Regions from separate parts of the Homo sapiens genome. Here regions 1 and 3 are each linked to region 2. Evidence: promoter capture Hi-C in human tissues and cell types (Jung and others, 2019). All regions are on one chromosome and are shown on one strand. Each heading gives the region's core, a stretch centred on a gene start or on the middle of the fragment in contact. The rest is flanking DNA. Distances are from core to core; before and after follow the strand shown. Region 1 has its middle 26 kb from the start of PLK4. Region 2 holds the start of LARP1B (La ribonucleoprotein 1B). Region 3 overlaps HSPA4L (heat shock protein family A (Hsp70) member 4 like).

Region 1 (2,700 bases), core at 152-2,651, 150 kb before region 2:
AATATGTGATAGTGGGATAGCCATTCCTAATGAAGGAATAAGAATAGAATGAAACAACTTCAATATCATAAAGACTGTTTAACCTAATGTGTCCTGCTGGTTTTTATAATCAGAAATATTAGAGCTGTTTCTTTTAAGTAGACAAGTAGACAATGTTATGATTATTCAACATTGTTTTGGAGGTTTTTGCCTCAGACAATAAGGAAGAAAAATAATACTTATATTTGCAACATAAATTGCAGAACTGATATTAAACTACCACCATACCCCTCTCCCAGAGAAAACCAGTAACAGAAAAAAGGGGATTGAAGGAAATTTTCTGTTGTCACACAGTAGAAAAATGGACAAGACATATGAATTGATAGTTCACAAAGGAAGGAAGTCCATATGGTCAATAAAAAGGAAATATGCTCAACCTCATAAAAGTTGGGGAAATGCAAAGTTAAAGCAAGATAATAATTTTCCTTTATCAAAGAATGGGTTTAAGATTAAGTAATAGCCCAGTGCAGTGGCTCATGCCTGTAATCCCAGCACTTTGGGAGGCCAAGGCAGGCAGGTCCCCTGAGGTCAGGAGTTCAATACCAGCCTGGCCAACATGGTGAAGCAGTGTCTCTACTAAAAATACAAAAATTAGCGAGGTTAGGTGGTGCACGCCTCTAATCCCAGCCACTTGGGAGACTGAGGCACGAGAATCTCTAGAACCCGGGAGGTGGAGGTTGCAGTGAACTGAGATAGCGCCACTGCACTCCAGCCTGGGTGACAGAGCAAGGCTCTGTCTTTAAAAAAAAAAAAAAAATTGAAATAATAATGCTCACAATATGTATAAGACATTCTCAGGTGTTGATTAGGGTGTAAATGATAACTGTGAAAGTAATATGGCAGTATCTATAAGAATTACCACATTGATAATCCAACTTTGGGGAAAGGAAGGATGTAAGCCCTTAGAGAAAATATGATCAGTAATAACAATTTCCCTTTAAAAATTGAAATAAAATGCCAGGCACAGTGGCTCATGCCTGTAATCCTAACACTTTGGGAGGCCAAGGCGGGTGAATCACTTGAGGTCAGGAGTTCAAGACCAGCCTGGCAAACATGGTGAAACCCCATCTCTACTAAAAATACAAAAATTAGCTGGGCATGGTGGCACACGCCTGTAATCCCAGCTACTCGGGAGGCTGAGGCAGGAGAATTGCTTGAACCTGGGAGACAGAGGTTGCAGTGAGCCAAGATCATGCCACTGCACTCCAGCCTGGGCAACAGAGCAAGACTCTGTCTCAAAAATAAATAAAATAAAAATGGAAATAAAGTAATCCCGAGCTAAATTTTATTTTATTTTATTATTTTTTTTAGACGGAGTCGCCTTCTGTCACCCAGGCTGGAGTGCAGTGGCATGATCTCGGCTCACTGCAACCTCTGCCTCTCAGGTTCAAGCGATTCATCTGCCTCAGCCTCCCAAATAGCTGGAATTGTAGACATGTGCCACCATGCCCAGCTAATTTTTGTATTTTTAGTAGAGATGGGGTTTCAACATGTTGGCCAGGCTGGTCCCGAACTCCTGACCTCAAGTGATCCACCTGTCTCGGCCTCCGAGAGTGCTGGGATTACAGGCGTGAGCCACCGCACCTGGCCTGAGCTAAATTTTAAAGGCCAATGACTCAAAACATACATTTCTGCTTTGACAGATGTTAACTAGTATACTTTTTATTATCTCTTCGTCTTTATGAGTGAGTCTATTTTTTAAGTATTTTTCTTATACATAACATATAGCTAAATTTTATTTTGATTACAATTTAATAACTTCTAATTTTTACATATATTGTTATTTCTGGCTGTCTTATTGTCATTACAGTTCTATTTGGATTTATGTCTAGCAATTAATTTTGTGCTTTCTAGCATGTACTATATTTTTGCTTTGCTTTTCTTTTTTTCCTGTTACTTCTTTCAAGCTGAGTTTCCTTTAATCCCCTTTTTTCTCTCTACTCGTTTTCTCTGGGGGAGGGGTATGGTGGTAGTTTAATATTCAATGTTTATATTACTGTGACTATGAAAATATTCATAGCTCCGCCAGGCGCAGTGGCTCACACCTGTAATCCCAGCACTTTGGGAGGCCAAGGGAGGCGGATCACCTGAGGTCGGGAGTTCGAGATCAGCATGACCAACATGAAGAAACCTCATCTCTACTAAAAATACAAAATTAGCCAGGCATGGTGGCACATGCCTGTAATCCTAGCTACTCTGGAGGCTGAGGCAGGAGAAACTCCAGGAAGCAGAGGTTGCGGTGAGCCGAGATCGCACCATAGCATTCCAGCCTGAGCAACAAAAGCGAAACTCCATCTCAAAAAAAAAAAAAGAAAGAAAAAGAAAAAAAGAAAATACTCACAGCTGAACTATGTACTATGCTAGAATTATATTTCTTGAACAATTTTTTTTCTGGAATTCTTTTGTTTTCTCTGATATGTCAGGTAATCTGTCTGTGCTTTTTTGTTGATCCATTTATCCCCTCTTTTGGAGACATCTCTCTGCTTTCCTTTTTCTACCTGGACTGGTTCCTTTGTAGTTTTCCAGTGTAGGAATGTACAGCAGTTTGTTTATATGTTATACTGTTGATGGACATTTGAGTTGTTTCCAGATTTTGGCTGTAAATATATACTTTATGAACATCTTCTGGTGCAGCTACATACAAGTTTCTCTAGGATTTTA
Region 2 (2,950 bases), core at 165-2,664:
CAGCCTGGGCAATAGAGTGAGACTCTGTCTCAAACCACCACCACCACCACCATCACCACCACCAATAAAAAATACAAAGCGCCACTAATAACAGAGCTAGTAAAGATGGATGGGAATATAGGTGGAAGTACAATCCCCTTTTAATTGCAACAAGGTTCGCCAGGTTGCTTAGGGTTGGGCAAACTGGAGATCACTGACACGGAAAACAAGAAAACCCTTATTGTTTATAGCTGTTATGTATGAATAGGTTATTAGCCTTAGGAAAATTATTTGTGCCGAATACGGCTTTTGAGTAAGCAAAAAATATTAACGTCAAGTTGAATGTAATTGAAGCGACTTATTGGGCGTGGGGTGGGGGGTGGGGGTTGAAAGCCCAAACATAAGGCGAGCACAGATAATTTATTTAACAAGGCTATGGGGTTGGTGGGGGGCTCGGAAAAAAATCAGCGGCGGAACCTGCTCTCAGCCACCTTGCACCAGGACACAAACACTGACTCAAAAATGAAACGAGTATCATCTCTAAGTGAATGTGAGTGCCAAGTAGAAAGCTCGTATCCGATTTATTATCAAAACGTCTTTGTACCATTTTAACATCCATTCCAGGAAGAAAAAACCTATTGGGAATATGGTTAATTTGTAATTAAGTGCTATTTACCCAAATTAAAGAAACAGGTAACAAAAAATTTTAAAAGCCGGCGAAATACTATTTAATTTACTCAGGAACGCTTTAGAACTCTTTTAGTTGGTGGGTGGGAATGCGGGCGGGGAAGCGCACTAAGCCGAACGCTGGGGCAAAGGTTTCCTAAACAGTTACCGAGAGGTAACTCCCCCTTCATCTGGGACGTGGCTCAAGATTACAGGTGATCGCGGTGCCCCGAGGCGCCAGGAGGCAACTTTCACCTGGGGGAGGCGCCGGGCGCCAGCGGGCCAAGCGGCCGGGCCGCGGAGCCCACTTCACTTGGGAGCTGCCCCAGGCCGGGGGTCGACACCGCGTCCCCTCCCTTAGCCTAGCTGCGACCCAGCTTTAGGGCCTAAGGGCAAATCGAGCGCTCGGTCCTCCCAGCGCCATGTGCGCGGCCCGCCCAGGCCCTTGGCCGCCGTCGCCGCGGGGGCAGGCCGCGAGCCAGCCGCGAGCCACAGAGGCCTGGTGCGCGCTCCGCCCCTGAGCCTGCAGTCGGGGCGGCCTCAGCCAGTGAGCCGGGAGTCGTCCCCTTCGTCCTCCCTCGCACTCGGAGGGCAGCTGGGGCGGGGCAGACCCTCGGGCCGGGCGGCACCCGGGCGGGCGAATCCGTCAGCTCCCGCGGGAGGCCCGGCGAGAGAAGGACCCGGTGAGTAGCCACGTCACGCTCCTCAGGGAGGCCCCGCCCCGTGCTCTCGGGCCGCCCCTCTTCGCCGTCTCCACGCCTCCGCGGGCAGTTACCAGCTTTGGCTGCTCGCGCCTCCCCAACTCGGGTAAAGCTCCTCGGCCTCGGCGTGCTGCGCCTCCGCGGCTGCCCTGCGCCAGGTGAGGGCTCGCGGCTCCCGGCTGCGGCTCCCGGCGCGTGGTGGCGGGCTCGGGGCGTGCGTCGCGGAGAGGACGGGGCCGGCGGGCGGTTGGCGCTCCGTTCGGTGCGGGGAGGGGCGTCACGCCGGGCGCTGCGCGGCCTCGGCGGGCGGCGGCAGCGGCGGCCACGGCCGCCGGGCTCTCGGGTTGTCTGTCCCCAGTTGGAGCCGGCCGGTGTCCCGGCGGAGAGACGGGCAGTCGGGTTCCCTGGCCTCGGGGCCACCCCGGCTGGGGCGGCTGGGGCAGAGGGACGATGTCTACTCGCGCCCCGATGCCCGCCGCCCATTCTCGGGAGGATCCGCCCGCGGTGACTGCTGAGAGGGAGTCGCTGTTGGCCGCGGCGAACCGGCCGGCCGAGCAGCCGCCCCCGCCCGAATGTGAGGGCAAAGAGGCGGCGAGGGAGGAGAGGGCCGCGGCCGCCACTAGCGCTGGGGCGCGGGGAGAGCCGTCGCCGGCGCTGGTGCTGGGACGCAGCGTGCCCCAGGCGGCTGTCCCCGTGAGGCCCCTGGCGCTGCACCTGGCGCACAAGGCGCGTGGGCCCGGGGGCCCTTTCGGCGGGGAGCCGCCACCGCCACCGCCGCCGCCGTCGCCGTTGCCGCCGTTGCTGCGGGATCCGCCGGCCGAGGACGCCCGGGAAGAGGTGGCAGCTGGCCCTGCGGAAAAGCGGCAGCCGCCGCTGCTGCCGCCTAAGGGAAATCCCTGGACCAAAAAGCCTCCCCAGCACCTGTCCCCAGACACGACAGGTCCGCCACCGCCCCCGCTGGAAACCCTGGAGGCAGGTCTGTGGTTGCTCTGCGTTGGGCACTGGCAGGGTGCGGGCAGGGGCGACTTGCGGGACTTGCCGGCGCGTGGCGGCGGTAGCGGGCACCAGGCCCGGGTAACGGCAGGCCTCCCCTCCCTGTCAGTCGGAGGTAATTTGTTCCAAGGTGTCATTCACTCTGCCTATTTACAGACATGGGCATCTGGGAAGGGAGCGGCAGGAAGAGGTGGGACCTCAGGTTCTCCTTGCCTGATGGGGGCACGGAGGTGGTAGCTTGGCGGCGCATCCCTGCTGGCGCGGTTGCGATTGTGTTTTGTCCCCAGTGTTAGTGACTTGGGAAAGTAGCTAACTTTAGATACTGCAGTGCTTCGTATGGGAAAGTTTTGGTAGACTTTTTTTTTTTTTTTTTTACATAAAAGGATTGAAGCAAGTCAGAGCAAGGGGATTTATTCGTAAGTGGAAGCGCGATTGTAGTCTTTTGTGAAATAAGATGAAAAAAGGTTTTCAAAACACTGCTGAGCAGTCATATTAAAAATGAGACTTTAAATGTGGTTTTTAAAGTGCTTTATGGGGGGAGGGGGGAGGGATAGCATTAGGAGATATACCTAATGTTAAATGACGAGTTGATGGGTGCAGCACACCAACAT
Region 3 (2,722 bases), core at 139-2,638, 240 kb before region 2:
TAGGTTCTGTTAGAGAACTACATTTCACAGGTGAGGAAACTGAGACACAAGTAGACTAAATTACCCAGGATCAGAGAATACCCTTTGGATTTGGATCCAGGTGATTGTTCTCCAAAGCTCAGTATCACAACCACTATACCATATCCACCCCCGCAAGGCTTTTATTCATTACCAGTTATGTGTCAAACATGGAACTAAATATTTTACATGAATTATCTCAACCTTATTAGCAGCCCTATGAGTTAGATGGAATTATGCTCTCTGTTTAGGATAAGAAAACTTATGTTTAGATGATTTTCCTGCTATCTCAAGATAGTAAATAGGGAACCTAGGATTTTAATCTGAGTATGTAGAATGACATAGGCTATGTTTTCTTTTGTTTTTTAACAGCTTTATTGAGATAAATTTACATATCATAATTAACCCATTTAAAGTATCCAGTGGTTTTCGGTATACTACGTTAATTTTTTTACATGAAATTTGCTATTATAACCATTTTTAAGTGTATAATTCAATGGCTTTAATTACATTCACCATACTGTGCATCCATCACCACTGTCTATTTTCAAAACAATTCCATCACCCCAAACGTTAACTCTATAATAACTTATTTTCCTCCCTTCTCCCAGTTCCCTACTTTCTGTCTTTGCGAACTGCCTAGTTATCAATAGATAAGAATCATGTTAAGTGGGATTATACAATGCTTGTCCTTTTGTGTCTGGCTTATTTTACTTGGCATAATGACTTCAAGATTCCTTGTTTCAGCACGTATCATAACTTCATTTCTTCTTAAAATGAAGTAAAATACTACATTGTGTTTATATACTTTTTTTATTTGTTCATCTTTTAGTGCACATTTGGGTTGTTTCTACTTTTTGGCTATTGTGAATAATGCTGCAGTGAACACTGACATACAAATATCTGTTCAAGTCTCTGCTTTCAATTTTTTGTGGGTGTATCTAGGAGTGAAATTGAAATTCTGTGCTTAGCATTTTGAGGGACAGCCAAAACGTTTTCCATGGTGGCTGCAGCATTTTACATTCCTCTCAGCAATGTACAAGGGTTTCACTTTCTCCACATCCTCATGAATACTTATTTTTTGTATTGTAATCATCCTAGTGAGTGTGAAGTGGTATCTTGTGGTTTTGATTTCTATTTCCCTAATGCATATTCTTATGGCAACTAATCTGAAGCTTTTTGAATAGGGGAAGATGATCATGCAAGATAAGTTAGAGAAAGAAAGAAATGATGCTAAGAATGCCGTTGAAGAATATGTATATGATTTTAGAGACAGGCTGGGCACTGTCTATGAAAAATTCATCACTCCAGAAGTAAGTCTAAATTCTGTTAATTTTTTGTGAGGACTATTTAAAGGTTTACTCGAGAATGCTAGTACAAATTACATAAATAAATGTACCAAATGTTGTTATTGTTGCCAATCTTGGGCCCATATGGGGAAGGTTCTTATTTTTACAAGTTGCAGAAGTATGGTGAAAAACATATTTTTGAATAAGAAGTTAGAAAATTTTGAAATTTAATATTTTATACTTGAAAAACATTCTGTCCTTCCATGATTTTTAATTTTTTTTTTATTTATTTATTTGAGACAGCATCTAGCTCTGTCGCCCAGGCTGGAGTGCAGTGGCACGATTTCAGCTCACTGCAACTTCTACTTCCCGGGCTCAAGCAGTCCTCTCACCTCACCCTCATAAGTAGATGGGAATACAGGCACATGCCATCATGCCTGGCTAATTTTTTAATTTGTTGTAGAAATATGATTTTGCCATATTGCCCAGGCTGGTCTCTTAGTTCTGGGCTCAAGCGATCCTCCCACCTTGGCCTTTCAAAGTGTTGGGATTACAGGCATGAGGCACTGCACTGCACTGAGCCCAATGATGACTTTTATTTCTAAGGAAAGTATTTTTAATTAGTGTCTCTCAAATATATTACTAGGACTTGAGTAAACTGTCTGCAGTATTGGAAGACACAGAAAATTGGCTTTATGAAGACGGAGAGGACCAACCTAAACAAGTTTATGTGGATAAGCTTCAAGAACTAAAGGTACATTTTTTTAAAGTCCATGTTAGTATAAACCAGTAACTTTTTCTAAAAATTAGGGTGTAAGAGCACAGTTTATGTTCTATTAATTTTTAATTTTTTAATTGAGAGGAAAATTGTATATATTTGTGGTGTACGACATGTTTTGATTATGCACACATTGTGGAATGGCTAAGTCAAACTATTTAACAAATGCATTACCTCACATACATTTCTTTCTTTGGGGGGGAGAACACTTAAAATCTACTCTCTCAACCAATTTTCAAATATACAGTATATTGTTAAGTATATATGGTAACTGTGGTTACCATGATGTACAATAGATCTCTTGGACTTACTCCTCTTGTCTAATTCAAATGTTGTGTCCTTTGACCAGTAGCTCTCCATCATACCATCCCCTGATAACCACCAATTCTACTATCTGATTCTAAGAGCTTACCTTTTTTAGATTCAACCTTTGAGATCATGCAGTATTTGTCTTTTTGTGCCTGGCTTATTTCACTTAGCATAATGTCCTCCAGGTTCATCTAAGTTGTCTCAAATGACAGGATTTACTTCTTTTTAAGGCTGAATAGTATTCCGTTGTATATGCATACCACGTTTTCTTTATCCATCATTTCACTGATGGACACTTAGATTGAGTCTCTATTTTGGCTATTGTGAA

Evidence for each region. Contacts are between HindIII fragments. The study calls those that stand out against the background at their distance.
Region 1: a fragment that was not itself captured here is called in contact with the fragment with the promoter of LARP1B in region 2 in 1 of the 25 tissues and cell types used here (H1 embryonic stem cells).
Region 3: a fragment that was not itself captured here is called in contact with the fragment with the promoter of LARP1B in region 2 in 1 of the 25 tissues and cell types used here (hippocampus).

The regions. Positions count from the first base shown.
Region 1 is chr4:127,905,681-127,908,380 of GRCh38, forward strand. No RefSeq gene overlaps it. Among named protein-coding and RNA genes, the nearest start is that of PLK4, 26 kb to the left of the region's middle. The HindIII fragment of the contact is 8,501 bases long and covers 1-2,700 here.
Region 2 is chr4:128,059,898-128,062,847 of GRCh38, forward strand. LARP1B (La ribonucleoprotein 1B) reads left to right here and starts at 1,415. Exons shown (of 20, transcript NM_018078.4): 1 at 1,415-1,504. RefSeq lists enhancers at 780-1,638, 1,639-2,497 and a silencer at 822-2,321. The HindIII fragment of the contact is 21,432 bases long and covers 1-2,950 here.
Region 3 is chr4:127,821,564-127,824,285 of GRCh38, forward strand. HSPA4L (heat shock protein family A (Hsp70) member 4 like) reads left to right here. Exons shown (of 19, transcript NM_014278.4): 15 at 1,206-1,331; 16 at 1,954-2,061. Among named protein-coding and RNA genes, the nearest start is that of HSPA4L, 41 kb to the left of the region's middle. The HindIII fragment of the contact is 5,115 bases long and covers 1-2,722 here.